Regions from separate parts of the Homo sapiens genome. Here region 1 is linked to region 2. The links are contacts of gene promoters, found by promoter capture Hi-C in blood cells and fetal thymus (Javierre and others, 2016). All regions are on one chromosome and are shown on one strand. Each heading gives the region's core, a stretch centred on a gene start or on the middle of the fragment in contact. The rest is flanking DNA. Distances are from core to core; before and after follow the strand shown.

Region 1 (3,665 bases), core at 258-2,757, 3.2 Mb after region 2:
GTTGCCCCAAACCCAGTTTGGCTCCCGCCCCAGTCACATAGTCGCTCCAACGTATCTTCCTGTCACAACTGCAGAGATGAAAGAAGTGCAGCTGAAGTTGGGACCTAAGTCAGTAGGTAGGATGATATCAAGTTTTTTAGATATTACATATAAGTTAGATCATAAACTATTTGTCTTTCTATGACTGGCTGAATTCACTTAGTATAAATTCCTCCAGTTCCAGCCATGTTGTGAATGAAAAAAATTTCCTTATTTTTATGGCTGTATATTATTCTAGTGTGTGTGTGTGTGTGTGTGTGTGTGTGTGTGTATACACACCACATTTTCTTCATTAATCTTTTAATAAAACCAGGTTGCTTCTATTGCTTCTATATCTTGGCTACTGTGACTAATTCTGAAATAAACATGAAAGTACAGGTATCTCGTTCACATGCTGATTTCAGATTCATTGGCTATATATCCAAAAGTAACATTTTTGGGGTCATATGGAATCTACTTTTAGTTCTTGGAAAATCTCCATACTATTTTGCAAAATGATTGTATTAATTTACATTGGCCCCAACAGTGTACAAAGGGTCCATTTCTTGCCAACACTTGTTATCTCACCAACACTTATCAATTTTTGTAATAGCCATTTTAATGGGTGTGAGGTGATATCTCATTGTGGTTTCAATTTTCATTTCCCTGATGATTAGAGACATTGAGGATTTTTTCATATATCTGTTGGTCATTCACATGTCTTCTTTGGAGAAATATCTGTTCAGATTCTTTGTCTATTACTAAATTAGTTTTTTGGTTTTTTTTTTTTATTTTAGCCCCTTACCATATGTATGGTTTAAAAATATTTTACCTAAATTTGTGGGCTATCTCTCCACTATGTAAATTGTTGTCTTTGCTGCATCAAAGCTTTTTAGTTAGATGCAATATCCTCTGTCTATTTTTGCTTTTCTTATCTGTGCTTTTGAAGTTCCATCCCAGAAATCCTTGCCCAGACCAAAATTATGAAGCTTTTACCCTACATTTTCTTCTAGTAGATTTATTGATTCAGTCTTTCATATTGGTCTTTTGTCCGTTTTGAATTAATTCTCATATATGGTGTGTCAGAAAGATCCAATTTCATGCTTCTGAATGTGGATATAAAGTTTTGTCAACACCATTTATTGAAGTGATTGTCTTTTCTTCATTGTGTTTATCTTTGTGGAAAATCAATTGACCTTAAATAGTCAGGTTTGCTTCTGTGCTTTCTATTCTTTTCCATTCATCAATATATCTTCTTTCATGCCAGTATCATGCTGTTTTGACTACAATTGCTTTATAATCTATTTTGAAATCAGGAAATTTGATACCTCCTACTTCATTCTTTTTGCTCAATTGCTTCAGCTATTCAAGGATTTTTTTCTATTAGACTTTTATTCTATTTCTGTGAAAAACAAATTGGAATTCTGATAGAGATTGCATTGAATCTGCAGGTTGCTTTGAGTACTATGTATGTTTTTAAAATAGTAAATTTTTCAACCTATGAACATGAGTTATCTTTATATTGTGTGTTTTTCAACTTCTTTCACCTATTATAGTTTTCATCATAGTCAATCATTCACCTCTTCAGTTAAATGTATTCCTAAATATTTAATTTTATTTTTGGATGCTATTGTAAATGGAATTATTTTCTTGATTTCTTTTTGGATAGTTTGTTGTTAGTTTATAGAAATAGTACTCTTTTTTAAATTTTGTTTTCATAAACTACAACTTTATTAAATGTACTAATCAGTTCTAATAGGTCTTTGATAAAGCCTTTAGGGTTTTCTACAATAAAAATCACCTCATTGGCAAACCTGATGCCAATTTCAATTTGCACTGACAATTTCACTTCTTTTTTTCCTTTATGGAGGCCTTTTATTTCTTTTTTCTAATCTAGTTGTTCTAGCTAGGACTTCCAATACTATAATGAATAGAAGTGATGACAGTGAGCATCCTTTTCTATTTCCTAATCTTAGAAGAAAAGCTTTCAACTTTTCACTGTTTAATATGATATTAACTGTGGGCTTGTAATATATGTATTTTATTATGTTCAGGTACATTATTTCAATACCTATTTGTTGAGAGCTTTTATCATGATCAGATGTTAAATGTAGTCAAATGTTTTTTCTGTATCTATTGAGAAAATGTTTTTTTCTGTATCATATGATTTTCTTCTTCATTTTGTTAATATAGTGTAACTCATTTATTGATTTATGTGCATTGAGCCATCCTTTCTCTTGTGGAATAAATCTCATTTTATCAAAGTTAATAAATATTTTATGTGCTTCTGAATTTGGTTTGCTAGTTTTCTTGAGGATTTTTGCTCCATATTTATCAGGGATTTTGGCCTGTTGTTTTCTTTTCTTGTAGTGTCCTTGTATGGTTTTAATATTAGGGTAAAGTTTGCCTTGTAAAATAAATTTTGAAGTATTCCCTCCATTTCAGTTTTCTGGATAATCTTGAGAAGGACTGATATTAGTTATTTAAATGTTTGGTAGAATTGGCAGTGAGGCTATCATGCCCTGGGCTTTATTTTTATTTTTGAAAGTTTTTTATTGTTGATTCAATCTCCTTACTTATTACAAGTCTGTTCAGATTTTTCTATTTCTTTTTTATTTGTCATGGTACATTACATGTTTCTAGGAATTTTATTTTTTCTGTGTTATTCATTTTTTATTATATAGTTGTCCATGATAGTCTTTAGGTCCCTTGCATTTCTGTGGTATCAGTTATGATTCCTTCCATTTGGATTTTATTTGAGTCTTCTTTCTCTTTGTCCTTGTTAGTCTAGCTAATGGTTTGTCAATTTTATCTTTTGAAAAAACCCCAATTTTACTTTCATTTATATTTTCTACTGTTTTTCTAGTCTCTATTTTGCTTATTTCTGCTCCGATCTTTGTTATTTACTTCCTTCCACTACGTTTGTGCTTAGTTTGTTTTTTTTTTTCTAGTTGCTAGAGGTATAACATTAGGTTGTTTGAAATCTTTCTTCTTCTTTGATGTAGGTGTTTATTGTTATAAAATTCCCTCTAAGGATTGTTTTTGCTGTATCCCATAAGTTTTGGTATATTGTGTTTCCATTTTTCCTTGTCTCAAGATTTTTTTTTCTTTTAATTTATCCTTTGTCCTATGTGTCATTAAGAAGGATATTTAATTTCCACATATTTGTGAGTTCTTCAAGATGATGATGATGATGATGATGATGATGATGATGATGATTGACACAATGTCTGGCTCTGCCACTCAGGCTGGAGTGCAGTGGTGTGATGACAGCTCACTGAACCATTGATGAGCCAAGCTCAAACAATCTTCCCACGCCACCCTCCCAAATAGCTAAGACTACAGGCACATGCCACCATGCCTGGCTTATTTTTGTATTTTTGTGGAGATGGGCTTTGGCCATGTTGCCCAGGCTTGCCTCAGACTCCTGAGTTCAAGCAATCCACCCACTTTGGCCTCCCAAAGTGCTGGGATTATGGAATGAGCTACTGTGTCCAGCCTGCTCCTATTATTGGTTTCTAGTTTCCTGCCATTTTAGTCACAACAGATGATATTCAATATAAATTCATTCTTCTTAAATTTGTTAAGAATTGACTTGTAGACTAACATGTGATCTATAGAAGAGAATGTTCCGTGCATACTTGAGA
Region 2 (3,769 bases), core at 212-2,711:
GTTGGCCAACACATTGATTCTAGTCATCCACTTAGGAAGAAGAGGGTGTGGCAAATCTGCAGCCTAGGAAAACACAAACTCAGTTTCTTCGTAATAGATACTGATTCGTTTTGTTTACAAAGATTTTAAAAAACAGTTATGCATTCAAATACTTTAAAAACGAAAATAACTTTATGGTTTGATTTATTTCCGTTGAATTTTAAAGAACTTTGTAGCAAGGTTTAAGATTGCTTAAAGAGCCTGAGTTCGGATTCCTAAAATAGTGCATTGGGAAGGAAGCATAAATCTCTAGGATATTTTCTTCACATTATCTTCAGACATGACCAAATGAAGTGTAACTACCCTTACACTCTAAGAGAATTAAACTATAATGACATATGTGGCATGAAACTTTAGTCTTTCTCTGGAAAAAACGGGAGGAGGGAAGGTTTGGAAGAACTAGAGGATACTAGTTTCATCATGAATTTGGTGATTTGTTCCAAAGTAAATTGCAATAAAAATGAGGGGTGGGGAAAAATGATGGAAAGATAGCTGTGAAGAGCTTTACTTAAAATTGTCTTAGCTGTTTAGCTAGGAACTGTAATTAGAAGGACTGGAGGATGTATTCCGCTGGCTTTATTCTCCAGGCTCTACGGGCCCTCCAATTTGAATAAACCTGGAAAACTCTCCTGACCTCTATTTCTTTGACAAAACATCTTTCTTTCGTGGTGACTTCCAAGGGAGGAAATTGGTACCCCAAGCTAGCCGTGAGGACCCCACCACATGCCCAAGGCATTGAACGCCAGACTCCCTAAGGACTCAGGGATTCTAAAAGTCCCCTCTCAAATCAGCGCCTAAAATACGCCTGTACAGCCACGCGCTACCGCTCCCAGCAGCGCGGGACTTCGGGACAGGGACAAGGCGGACGCTAGGCGTGCGCCCCCGGGGAGCCCCCACGTTCCGGCCACGCCCACCCTGGCCCTGGGCAGCCGCGCCCGGGAGGCCTGGCACCGAGGCGGGCGGGTCCCCGAGTTAGGGGCCCGCGAGTCGGCTGGGCGCCCCCGCCTCTGCCCGGGCAGTGCCCCGCCGAGTGCTCAGAACTGCGGACAAATAGGCTGGAGGGCCGGGCCGCGGAAGGCGTTCCCACACCGGCCAGTCTCCGTCCACCAGGAAGCAAACTCCTCGTACCTCCCTGGGGACCGAAAACTGCCGGTGCCGCCGCACCCGTCGCCGCCGCCGCCTGCTCATGGAGAGCCCGGGCTGCCGCCGCCGCCGCCGCCGCCGCTGCCTCATCTATGAGTACCGCCGGCTGTCTCGGCCTCCCCCGGCGTGAGTTCTGGGCTCTGGCATGGCCTCCATGGCAGCCGCCGCGGCGGGAGCCACAGCAGCTCCAGCGCCCAGGCCCAATCTCACTGGACCCACGGAGCCAGGACAGTGGGACACGTCGCTTCTTATTACGGAGGAAGATTCGGCACGACCTCCGCCCCCCTCCCCCCAACCCCCCCGTTTTCAGCCGCCTGACAGCGCAGCTGCGCAGGCGCGAAGACGCCCCAGCCTAATGTGCGTGTGTCGGCTGTGTATACAGCATCCAGATTCGCCCAATGGGAACCAGGATCAGGTGTGGGGGGCGGGACCTCGCAGAGAGGGGCGGGGTTCCACTGGTAGAAGGTGGGTGGGGAAGCCGGAAGTGGGCAGAGTTTGCACGGAGGCGGAGCTTTATTGGCAAACCTGATTGGCTTTTTGAGGTTTGTACCATTTTAGGACTTGATTTTAGTTTGCTTCTGGGTCTTGTTTTCTCAAATTCTTAACCTAGAAAGAAAGCTTTGTTTTCTCAGTAAATTACGGTTTTTTAAGCGTTTAAGTATTTACTTAGAAAACAGTTGAATTGATCTGTTAAATGCCAGCTTTAGTGTTCAAGTTAATTATTGGCCAATATACTGTAACTTACAGTGGAAGTTAACCCCATTTTGAAAAATTAGATTGTTTTAATTCCATTGTGAAGTTGAAAAAATTGGGTTTTGGAGATAATAAGGTCCCACACAGCAAGTGACGGAGCTGGAAATTACAGTTAGGACAACTTAATGCTAGTTTGTGGGCTCAACCACTATTTCTGTTTATTAGGGCCGAGTTTTTGTATCTCCCGTAAAGAAGCAAGGCCCTGTATGGCTCTGCATCTGGAGAACACAGGCCACCCTGCAAAAACTACCTCTCCTTGCAAGTAGGCATGGAGATCTGGTTGAGATTTTCCCCATCCAGCCTTTCAACAAATAATGAGGGTCTGGAAAGTTAGCTCTAACGTTCAGAACACGTGAGGGCTAATGAGAGAGCTCAAGGCTATCCTAGTAAATCAGTGTGGTTTTCCGTCACAGGCTGAGCCTGGGAGAGGCTGGATGCCTTCTTGACCGGTGTGATGGTCGGCCAAAGCTATGGAGGGGAACTTCCTCATGGATCTCTCTAAAAAAGTCTAGAAATGGAAGAGAGACTTCCATTTCTTGAGTTTTGGCTCTGCCCAAAAAAGAATAATTAATAGCTCTGGCAAAGCCTGCTCTTTTTAGTTTCCTGTTTTTTCTTATTTCTTATGGTATTTTATAGATGAGGAAACTGAGGCTCTTAGAGATAAACTAGTGTGTTGGAAAACTTGCAAAAAGTTCACTCTCAATATTAATCCTCTCCTACAGGTAGAAAAGCCCTTTAAAAATGTTTGTAAATGTGGATTATGTGTTTAATTATAAATCTCTCACAAGACATGGAGTTCATTTTATACTGATTAGGTCATTCTCTTCCTGAAAACAGCCATAGTATGGTGGATGACACCATTTCTGGAGAATAGTATTGAGATTGCTCATTAAACTCTGCCGAGTCTCAGCTAGATGGAGGAAGCATGGATTCCTTGAATACTTGGATAACTCACAAACATCACTGAGGCCTTTAACTGAAATTTCCATTCTGCATCTTTTCCACCGTCTTCAAAATCTGACATCTGAGTTGTAGGGTTTTTTTAGATATATTTACTGAAGTATAATTGGCATAGAATATATAGAGCATACTTAAAGTGTATAATTTTTATCAGTTTTGACATATGTATAACCCCTTAAACCATCACTGTGATCAAATGAGTATGCCCATCACACTTAAGTTTCTGCTTACCTACCGCCCCCCAACTCTGCCTTTTTTTTTTTTTTTTTTTTTTTTTTTTTTCAGAATCCTGATCTGTTACCCAGGCTGGAGTGCAGTGAATGATCTCGGCTTATTGCAACTTCCGCCTCCCAGGATCAAGAGTTTCTGGTATCTCAGCTTTCCGAGTAGCTGGGATTATAGACGTGCACCACCATGCCTAGCTAATTTTTGTATTTTTAGTAGAGGCAGAGTTTCACCATGTTGGCCAGGCTGGTCTCAAACTCCTGGCCTCAGGTGATCTGCCCACCTCGGCCTCCCAAAGTGCTGGGATTACAGGCGTGAGCCACCACACCTGGCCCTCATTCTCTTAGCAGTGTATTTTGAAGAGAAGTTTTAACTTTTAATAAAGTTTAATTTATTTATTATTTTATGGATTACATTTCTAGTGTTGTTTCTAAGAAATTTTTGCCTACCCCAAGCTCACAAAGAAATTTTCCTATGTTTTCTTATAAAAGTTTTATGTGTTCAAGCTGTACATTTAGATGTATGATGCATTGTAGTTAACTTTCTTATATAGTTTGAGGCATGTATCCAAGTTCATATTTGATGTATGGATACCCAGTCATCGCAGCAATTTTTTTTTTGAAAAGCCTGTACTTTTTCCACTGGGTTG

Evidence for each region. Contacts are between HindIII fragments. The CHiCAGO score rates a contact against its expected background, and 5 or more counts as called.
Region 1: a contact is called between a fragment that was not itself captured here and the fragment with the promoter of DORIP1 in region 2, in 2 of 17 cell types (naive CD8 T cells and naive CD4 T cells). The highest score is 6.3, in naive CD8 T cells.

What each region holds. Positions count from the first base shown.
Region 1 is chr14:41,738,958-41,742,622 of GRCh38, reverse strand. The region is part of intron 1 of LRFN5 (leucine rich repeat and fibronectin type III domain containing 5); the gene reads right to left. It also overlaps the pseudogene FKBP1BP1. Among named protein-coding and RNA genes, the nearest start is that of LRFN5, 130 kb to the right of the region's middle. The HindIII fragment of the contact is 995 bases long and covers 1,010-2,004 here.
Region 2 is chr14:44,894,967-44,898,735 of GRCh38, reverse strand. DORIP1 (dopamine receptor interacting protein 1) reads right to left here and starts at 1,461. Exons shown (of 5, transcript NM_001017923.2): 1 at 1,168-1,461. RefSeq lists silencers at 807-1,126, 1,147-1,276 and enhancers at 643-1,142, 1,767-1,816. The HindIII fragment of the contact is 3,873 bases long and covers 1-1,802 here.